Regions from separate parts of the Homo sapiens genome. Here region 1 is linked to region 2. The links are contacts of gene promoters, found by promoter capture Hi-C in human tissues and cell types (Jung and others, 2019). All regions are on one chromosome and are shown on one strand. The core of a region is centred on a gene start or on the middle of the fragment in contact, and the rest is flanking DNA. Distances in the headings are between cores, read along the strand shown.

Region 1 (5,329 bases), core at 512-3,011, 150 kb after region 2:
GGAAATTCAAATTTCAGAATAAGCTGACTGCCAAGAGGGCCCTCCCCCTGTCGGGAGTCCCTTAGTCCATGGGAAATTCACAGAGAAGGAAACAGTCACTTTTCCTGCACCTGAGAAGGTAAAAATCAAACTGCCTTAGAAAGATTCTGTCCTCCTAAAAACTGGTGCCTCTGTACACCTCAAGGAGTCAGCAGGCTCTCCCTCCGAGGCTTAAAAGCCTCAGGGATTTCTTTTTTTCTTTTTTTCTTTTTTTTTTTTTGAGACGGAGTCTCGCTCTGTCACCCAGGCTGGAGTGCAGTGGCGCGGTCTTGGCTCACTGCAACCTCTGCCTGCCGGGTTCAAGTGATTCTCCTGCCTCAGCCACCTGTGAGCCACCGTGCCAGCCAGCCTCAGTGATTTCTTAGGAGCCTGTTGTATGCAATCTTGAGGGCTGAAGAAGTGAGAGGGACCCACCCCATCCTACCTCTACAGAATGCTTGGCACCCCCACCAATGTTCCTAGACTCCATCTCAGGACCAAGGTAGTGTAGACCCAAAGCCCGGCCCTATCCTGGCTCCCAAGCATCCCACAGCCTCTGGGGTAGAGGTGGTTAGAGGCACCAGCTCTAGACCTTGGCTGCCTTCTGTCTGCCCTCAGGGTCTGCTCAGATCAGGACACCCCCTCCCCCAGGCTGGGGCTCAGCCTCAGCATCCTTGGCAGGGCTCCCCACAGGGGCATTTCCACAACTTTCCAGCCCTGGCCTCCTGTTCAAGGGTTCGGCCTCAGGCAGGACTAGAGCTGAGTTGCAGAGGAGGAGGAGGAGCGGGGAGAGAGCCGAGTAGTTCAGGTTGCCGCAGGGGAGACAGGAGGGAGGAGAAGAGAAGGAGGGGAGGGAGCGAAGGTCCTCAGAACCCAAGTGCGGGGCAGCCTCAGGAAGGTGACTTCTGTTATTCTCCCTGTGTGCTGTGTCTTTAGGAAAATCCCCCTCACACGACAGCCCAACAGCCTTATACCCGCAGTTGCTCTGGGAGCAGGGGAAAATGTCCTGCAGTTCTTGCCCCTCATTTGGGTCAACTCCAGGACAGAAGTAAAGGCGACAGCTGCAAGGAATCAGCAGAAGCAGGACAGCAGCCATGAGCACATGAGCCCCCAGAGCTGGCAGAAACCTTGGAGGCTTTGTGTAGCTACAGTGATGGCCACGTCTGGGCTGGCACTCACCTTATGCCAGTCTCTAGGGAGGAGCCCGCATTTGCAGGCTGGGTTACATCTTTTCCCCTCTTCCACGCTGGGATTCTTTTTTTTTTTTTTTTTTTTTTTTGAGACAGAGTCTCGCTCTGTCGCCCAGGCTGGAGTGCAGTGGTGCGATCTCGGCTCACTGCAAACTCCGCCTCCCAGGTTCAAGCAATTCTCCTGCCTCAGCCTCCGGAGTAGCTGGGATTACAGGCACCCACCCCCATGCCCGGCTAATTTTTGTATTTTTAGTAGAGACAGGGTTTCGCCATGTTGGCCAAGCTAGTCTCAAACTCCTGACCTCAGGTGATCCGCCTGCCTTGGCCTCCCAAAGTGCGGGGATTACAAGCATGAGCCACCGTGCCCGGCCTGGAAATTGTTTTTTTTTTTAAACCCTCAGGTGATTCTGACTCTCCTGGAACCTGAGAACCACCAGTCTACGGGAACAGAGCCCTGCTTTGGGTCAGGTGTGTATAACTATGGTATTCCCTTTCTTCTCTGCCTCTATTGTTGATGTTGTTTTTTTGTTTTTTGTTTTTTTTTGAAACGGAGTCTCGCTGTTGCCCAGGCTGGAGTGCAGTGGCGCAATCTCGGCTCACTACAATCTCCGCCTCTGGGGTTCACGCCATTCTCCTGCCTCAGCCTCCCGAGTAGCTGGTAAGGGAGGAGACCACCCCTCACATTGTCTTATGCCCAATTTCTGCCTCCAAAGAAAGAAGTAAAAACTAAAAGGCAGAAATGAAATCCACAGGCAGACAGCCCGGCGCTGCACCCTGGGCCTGGTAGTTAAAGATCGACCCCTGACCTAATCAGTTATGTTGTCTATAGATTACAGACATTGTATAGAAATGCACTGTGAAAATCCCTATCTGTTTTGTTCCGATCTAGTTACCAGTGCATGCAGACCCCAGTCACGTACCCCTTGCTTGCTCAATCAATCCCGACCCCCTCACACGCACCCTCCTTAGAGTTGTGAGCCCTTAAAAGGGATAGGAATTGCTCACTCGGGGAGCTCGGCTCTCGAGACAGGAGTCTTGCCGATGCCCCCAGCCGATTAAACCCCTTCCTTCAACTCGGTGTCTGAGGAGTTTTGTCTGCAGCTCGTCCTGCTACACTGGGACTACAGGCGCTCGCCACCACGCCCGGCTAATTTTTTATATTTTTTAGTAGAGGCAGGGTTTCACCGTGTTAGCCAGGATGGTCTCGATTGCCTGACCTCATGATCCGCCTGCCTTGGCCTCCCAAAGTGTTGGGATTACAGGCGTGAGCCACCGCGCCCGGCCCCACTCTCTACCTCTGTTTGTTTAGGGGCAGGCATAGAATCCCATTCTAGTCAATGAGACAGAAAGGGGTTCTGGAAAGTTCCCCCACCCCCTTATAAAACAAGGAGGACGTCTTCAAGGAGGACGTCTGAGGAGAAGCTTTGCCGTGGCCTTTTGCCTTTGGATGCTGCCAGAGGGGTTAGAAGGCGGAGCTCCACAGTCAGGCAGCTGGGGTGTGTATCCTAGCGGGGAGAGCAAGAGACAGTGGGACAAAAATAATAACAGTAATAGCAGCAATGCTTCTTGAGGACTTTCCGCATGGCAGGCCCTATTCTAAGCACCTCATGTAGCATATTTTACCCTCAAACAGTCCTGAGGTAGGTTCTGTTATTGCGATTTTATAAATGAGGAAACTGAAGCACAGACAAGTTTAAATAACTCGTTCAAAGTCATACAGCTCATACATGGAGGCCAGCATGCAGGCCAGGTGTGTGGGGTATGGGCATTGCGGGCTACTTTAGGGACCCTGACCTTTTCCTCAGCATAGTGGGAAGCTGGTGAAAGGTTTTAAGCAGGGGTGGCCCCTCTGATTTACCTTTTTTTTTTTTTTTTTTTTTTTGAGACAGTGTCTCACTCTGTTGCCCAGGCTGGAGCGCACTGGTGAGATCTTGGCTCACTGCAGCCTCAAACTCCTGGGCTCAAGTGATCCTCCCACCTCAGCCTCCTGAGAAGCTGGGACTACAGGCAAATGCTACAGTGGCTGGCTACTTTTTGTAAAGACGGAGTTTCACCATGTTACCCAGGCTGGTTTTGAACTCCTGAGCTCAAGCAATCCGTCCACCTCTGCCTCCCAAAGTGCTGGGATTACACGCATGAGCCACCACATCTGGCCTGATTTACTTTTAAAAGTCACTGAAATGCTTTGCTCCTAAATTCTCTGCTGGGGACAAGCCAGCCACACTTGCACGGCCTGTTCTTCAGCCTCTTTTCCTCCCTGAGACATCAGTCCCTTAGCAAACCCAGCGTCTTGGGTGACTGGGACCAGGGTGACTCAATGGCAGATGCTGATGGGTGAGACAGCCACAAAGATGATCTTTGGAGAGTGAGTTATAGGTGATTTGTTTTATTTAATTTTTAATTTTTTTATTTTTTTTTGAGACAGAGTCTCACTCTGTCGCCCAGGCTGGAGTGCAGTGGCGTGATCTCAGCTCACTGCAACCTCCTCCTCCCGGTTCAAGCTACTCTCCTGACTCAGCCTCCAGAGTAGCTGAGATTCCAGGCATGTGCCACCACACCCAGCTAATCTTTGTATTTTTAGTATAGACAGGGTTTCACCATATTGGCCAGGCTGGTCTCCAACTCCTGACCTCAAGTGATCCACCAACCTTGGCCTCCCAAAGTGTTGGGATTACAGGAGTGAGCCACCACCTCTGGCCAGGTGATTCGTTTTAAATCTGAATTTTTACATTTTTTTATAATAAGTGACCATATATCACTTGCTATTTAAAAAAAAATTTTTTTTGAGATGGAGTTTCACCCTTGTTGCCCAGGCTGGAGTGCAATGGCATGATCTTGGGCCACTGCAATCTCCGCCTCCCGGGTTCGAGCGATTCTCCTGCCTCAGCCTCCAAGTAGCTGGGACTACAGGCATGTGCCACCACGCCCAGATAATTTTTGTATTTTTAGTAGAGGCAGGGTTTCACCATGTTGGCCAGGCTGGTCTCAAACTCCTGACCTCCGGTGATTCTCCTGCCTTGGCCTCCCAAAGTGCTGGGATTACAGGCATGAGCCACCGTGCCCAGCCAAAAGTCATTATTTATAAAAAGAAAGATGAGGGGCCAGCACCCCACCCTCCCCAGGGTTGTTGACTCCTGCTGGTACTGGCTGTGGCTGAAGTCATCATCATGGAGGCTAACCCTTGGAGGGTAGATAGTGCAGTGGCAGCATCCTAAGGGCTTTATGTGACCTGTATGAACTCATTTAATCCCCACTGGCTTGGCCAAGGCCACAGAGCTGAAGAGTGGCAGGCTAGCGTCCGGACTCTCAGCTATGTACCAGGCTGCTTTTCTGGAAATGTTTTCCAGTTCCCCCGTGGGTGAAAGGCCTGTCCTTCCCACACCTTCCACAGTGGAAGTGGCCTCCATTCTCTGCTGTGCAGAATTGCTGGTGGAGAAGTGGGTGTTGGGGAGCTGGGGGCAGGAAATAGAAGATATTGGACAGAAATGTCCTGCAGTTGTTTGAAGCCTAAACAAAAACCCTTTCTTGGCCAGGTGCGGTGGCTCATGCCTATAATCCTGGCACTTTGGGAGGCTGAGGTGGGCCGATCACTTGAGGTCAGGAGTTCAAAACCAGCCTGGCTAACATGGTGAAACTCCATCTATTCTAAAAATACAAAAATTAGCCGAGTGTGGTGGTGGGTGCCTGTAATCCCAGCTACTCGGGAGGCTGAGGCAGGAGAATCACTTGAACCCGGGAGGCAGAGGTTGCAGTGAGCTGAGATCGCGCCTCTGCACTCCAGCCTGGGTGACAGAGCGAGACTCCTCTCAAAAAAAAACAAACTCGTCCCTCTCCCTCTCCCTCTCCCTCTCCCTCTCCCTCCACGGTCTCCCTCTGATGCCGAGCCGAGGCTGGACGGTACTGCTGCCATCTCGGCTCGCTGCAGCCTCCCTGCCTGATTCTCCTGCCTCAGCCTGCCCAGTGCCACGCCTGACTGGTTTTCGTTTTTTTTTGGTGGAGACGGGGTTTCGCCGGGCTGGTCTCCGCTCCTGACCGCGAGTGATCCGCCGGCCTCGGCCTCCCGAGGTGCCGGGATTGCAGATGGAGTCTCGTTCACTCGGTGCTCAATGGTGCCCAGGCTG
Region 2 (4,677 bases), core at 1,433-3,932:
AATGGGAGAGCAACCTCCTTCCCCTGAGGATAAAGACAATGAGGTGATGGGATTGTGAACTGATACTGTTCCCTGGAAAATTAGCTCCAGCAACCCTGTGGATTTTTTCCCTTGGGCTACCTCTGATAGCAGCAGGGTGGGCCCTGGAGGTGAGACAGTCCCTTCCATATGCACAAATGACAGTATCAGGCTCCAAGTGTTTCATACCTTTTATTACAAAAATCAATAACTTAATTCAGTTCTGTATAAAGTCGATAGGACTTCTGGTCCAATAAGCAGCCTAAGCTTTCATTCTCATCCCAAGAAGGGACAGGAGTCTTGGCCCAGAGGCTGTGGGGACCACCAAAAGCCTCCCAGGCAGCTGGAACACTGTGTCCAAACCAAGGAAGTCCAATGTGGGGTGTGGCTGAGTGAAGAGCTGTTCCTAAGGAGCCAAGTGCTGTCTATACAGGCTTGCCCCCTCCAGGAGCATTGGGTCACCTCTGGGGATGGCCAGGCTGAATCAGCACTGCCAGCCTCTGCCCACCTGATCTCTGCCTGGGCTGGAACAGGTCACCTGAGCAAAAGCATGTCCCCAAGAAGGCCAGCGATGTCAACATCTCCAATGATAGGGCGAAAGAAGAGGTCCCCAAGCAGGCTGGTCGGAATGGACTTGAGGGTGGAGGCCGTGAGGAGGACACGGGTCAGGCGGCCTTGGGCTGCTGGGCACCAGGGTTCCAGGACTTCACACAGCACCCAGTGAGCCTCCTGCTGCAGGTGCCCAATGTGGGAGGCGGCTTGGAGGCCTGGCACATCTGTGGGCAGAGAGGGAGAAGAGGGCTGGTGAGCACCCTACTCCCAGCCACCAAAGGACAAGACTGGCCCAAGATCTGGGCCATCAGAGACACCCCTCTGCCTCCTTTGCTCGGCCTTTGAGGTCCCACTACTACCTCCTCCTTTAGAGGAGGTAATTTATTTATCAATTTTCAATGTATTCATCCATCCATTTATGAAGAGGCAGTGTGGAGTAATGGTTAAGAATTAGGCTTCCTGGGTATGAATCCCAGCACTGTCACTTATTAGCTGGGTGACCTTGGGCAAGTCACTTAATCTCTGGGCTTCAGTTTCTTTATCTGTAAAACGGGAATAATAATATTAATAGGACCTGTCTCCTAGGCTTTTATGAGATTTAAATGAACTAGTATATGTAAAACCCTTAGAATAGGGCCTAACATATGGTAAGTGTGATATGAGTATTTGCTACTATTATTACAATTAATTACTACGATTTATGCGTGCCACAAGGGACTCCTGGGGAACTCTCATCTCAGATGCTCTCCAGATTACAAACAGCACTGTCTCCATCTGCCGCTCTCCTGGCCGAATTCCATAAAGACTCCTTTCCTGTCCTCCCTACGCCCCTTTCAGTCATCTCTTCTATGTGATCTTTCTGAACCCACAGAGGAGTTTTAGCTCTAGAGCTTCACCATGCAGCCTTCCTTTGAGGATGTGACTGAGACACAGCTGTGTCTGCCCACCCCACCTCCCCACAGCCTTCTGTAAAGGTCAGAGCAAATTTCTCAGGCAGAGTGGCAAGGGCCAGTCTCTGGAGTGAATAGACCTGAGTTGCCATCCTGGTCTGTCCCTACCTGGCTGTGTTACCTTTAGCTAGTCACTTAGCTTCTCTGTGCCTCTTCTGTGAGATGGCTATTTGATGAAAATGAGGACTGGCCAAGCACGGTGGCTCACGCCTGTAATCCCAGCACTTTGGGAGGCCAAGGTGGGTGGATCACCTGAGGGGTTAGGAGTTCAAGACCAGCTTGATCAACATGGTGAAAGCCCATCTCTACTAAAAAGTACAAAAATTAGCCGGGAGTGGTGGCGGCCATCTGTAATCCCAGCTACTCGGGAGGCTGAGGCAGAGAAAATTGCTTGAACCCAGGAGGCAGAGGTTGCAGTGAGCCAAGATCGCACCACTGCACTCCAGACTGGGTGACAGAGTGAGACTCTGTCTCAGAAAAATAAAAAGAAAATGAGGACCCAATGAGATAACAGATATCAAACCCTTAGAAGCTACCTTCCCTGGCTGGCCCCTGCTTCAGCCTTGCCCCCCACCCAGGAGTGTCTGGGAGCTCACCGGGGTTGAAGAGGATGGTCCCTTTCAGGCAGGCATATTCCTTGGGGCTAAGCTCCAGGCTCCAGAAGGACTCCAGACAGCATTGAAGCCACTGCACCGCAGCCAGGGAGGGCTGGGGTCTGTCTGGCAGTTGGCCACTGCCTCCACTGCTGCTGGGCTCCTCCAGCAGAATCTTCTTGAGTATGCTGGGCACCGGGGCCTCAGCCACCTCAAAGGTCACAGCATCTTGGGCCAACCCAAGCAGGAAGAGGGGGCCCCAGCAACCCTGCAGCAGCCGCCGCTGGTCCTGGGGAGGCAGCTGCCAGAAGGATGGCAGGTTCCTGAGGAAGGCCACTGTCTTGGCCAGAACATCCAAGGCCTCCCGGCAGGTGCGATGAGGTGCACATAGCTGGACGGGCCGGTGCTGCCTACATAGGCAGCGGCTACGGGGTCGGGGGACAGCCTTGAGGCTGGAGCTCAGAAGTGCGTAGAGAATGGCGGGGCGGCTTGCAGCTCCCTGGCATGGGCAGGCCCCTGGTTGGCTGGTGCTCATGGTTAGGGATCTGCTCTCACTTCCAGCTCTCTGGCTCTGTGTTCTGCGCTGTGGGTGCTATTTATATTCCCAGTGAGTGGAACGGGGGGAATGGCCCAACAACCTTGACTCCAGAAGTCATGTTCATTGAAAAAAACACACAGACATTGCCCCTGGCAGGAATGGTGGGGAAGTGGTGGGGGAGGGGGCATTGGGAACCCCACGTGGCACTGATATCACCTCAGTCAATGAAGTGGCCGGTGCAGGGCACAGGGCCACCTGCCGCTCACTCAGCTGCCCCTTATCAGATGACTCAAGTGGATAAACAAGGTCATTAACTCAGGCTGTACCAGGGCACCAAGGCCCCAGGTGCACAATCAGCAGGTGTCCCCATTGGTGCCCGCTCTTGTGTGCACAAAAGACTAGGGCTTTTGCTAAGCCAGGAAGCCAGCCCCAGAGCTGGGTGGGCCTTGAATGCAAGGCCCAACCTGGAAGTGCCTTATCACTAGCTTGTTTGCCTAACCTTGGGGCCCTGCTTCTGTTGTCAGCCAGAAGCAGGCTACAGGGAAGGGAGCCAGGACCCTGGGGGCTGGGAGGACTTTGCCCACTGTCCAATCTAGGAGGCCTCCTCCTCTGATTCCAGTTCTGGGCCCCCTGCAGGAATAAGGTCCTTCAGAATCCTTATCCCCAGCCTGATTCCTACCACTCCTGAAAGGCCAGGTCTGCTGAGAAGAACTCACAGAATTATAATAAAAGATAGTTGCCAGCCGGGCACGGTGGCTCATGCCTGTAATCCCAGCACTTTGGGAGGCTGAGGAAGGGGGATCATTTGAGGTCAGGAGTTCAAGACCAGCCTGGCCAACATGGCAAAATCCCGTCTCTACTAAAAATACAAAAATTAGCCGGGCATGGTGGCATGTGCCTGTAGTCCCAGCTACTCTAGAGGCTAAGGCAAAAGAATCACTCGAAACTGGGAGGCAGAGGTTACAGTGAGCTGAGATCATGCCACTGCTCTCCAGCCTGGGCAACAGAGCAAGATCCTGTCTCAAAAAAATATATATGTATATGTATATGTATATGTATATGTATATGTATATTTATATGTATATGTGTATATATATATACACATACATACATACATATATATATATATATATGTATATATATGGTTGCCATTCTCTAAGCACTTATTATGTGTCAGGCACTTCCCACTCTAATATTGGCAGCCTCTTCCTAAGGCTAGATTCTTACTTTATGAGACTAAAAAAGCTAAAGTGACTTGCCCAAGGTCATCCCACCAGGAAGACAAAGCCCAGATCTTGCCTGACTCCAAAGTCCTTGTTTGTTTCCCTGGACCCACTGGCCCAATTGCACAGCCAGAGCCTGAGATTCTCAGAGCTTGTGGCTAGCTGCCCCCACCTTGCTGCTGCCTGCTTTGCAGACGTTGCCCACTTGTGATCTGGGCAGAAGTGTTGCTCTGCTGCCACGTGGCTCCTCTGTCCCGGGCATCTTTCTCAGATGGTGGAGCACAGGGGATGAGAGAAGGTGGAGAGGCCCTTGGTTGTGTCATGTTCCTGGACCTTGGCCAGTCCAGTGTGGCAAGCCTTCTGCTGCATGCTGTTGGGCAGCCTGGTGCCCTGGATGGGGAGAGAGAGGCTCTGGCATCACTAGCCCTGGCATCTGCTCCAGAATCCATCACTTTTTGGTTATGTGACTTGGGTTGATCCTTGAACCTCGATAAGCCTCCCTGGGACAATAATGCCTGGCTGTAGGGCTGCCATGGGGACAAAATGAGGTCCTGGTTGTTAAATTCCAAGTGGTTTCTGGCATACGGTAGGAGGATTTTTCTGCCCCTTTCCTCTGTGGAGCTGAGCACCAGTGGACAAACAGGCACACCTCTTTCATTTGATTATTAGTCTTAATCCTTAAATTTATAAAGTTCCTTTCATGTTTTTAAATCTCACTGAATTCTCACAGTGTCCCCTTGAAGCAGACTCTGGAGTCAGACTGGCTGGGTTCAAATCCTGCTTCACTTAGCTGAGTGACCTTG

What was found. Contacts are between HindIII fragments. The study calls those that stand out against the background at their distance.
Region 1: a fragment that was not itself captured here is called in contact with the fragment with the promoter of NR0B2 in region 2 in 2 of the 25 tissues and cell types used here (mesendoderm cells and spleen).

Annotation. Positions count from the first base shown.
Region 1 is chr1:27,058,405-27,063,733 of GRCh38, forward strand. It overlaps LOC101928391 (a long non-coding RNA gene), which reads left to right. Exons shown (of 8, transcript XR_007065559.1): 6 at 1-118; 7 at 1,610-1,676; 8 at 5,208-5,329. Among named protein-coding and RNA genes, the nearest start is that of TENT5B, 48 kb to the left of the region's middle. RefSeq lists a silencer at 654-948. The HindIII fragment of the contact is 6,810 bases long and covers 1-5,166 here.
Region 2 is chr1:26,911,293-26,915,969 of GRCh38, forward strand. It overlaps NR0B2 (nuclear receptor subfamily 0 group B member 2), which reads right to left and starts at 2,683. Exons shown (of 2, transcript NM_021969.3): 1 at 2,117-2,683; 2 at 197-794. The coding sequence starts at 2,648. The coding sequence ends at 553. It also overlaps a transcript of NUDC not described here. RefSeq lists an enhancer at 4,150-4,650. The HindIII fragment of the contact is 33,061 bases long and covers 1-4,677 here.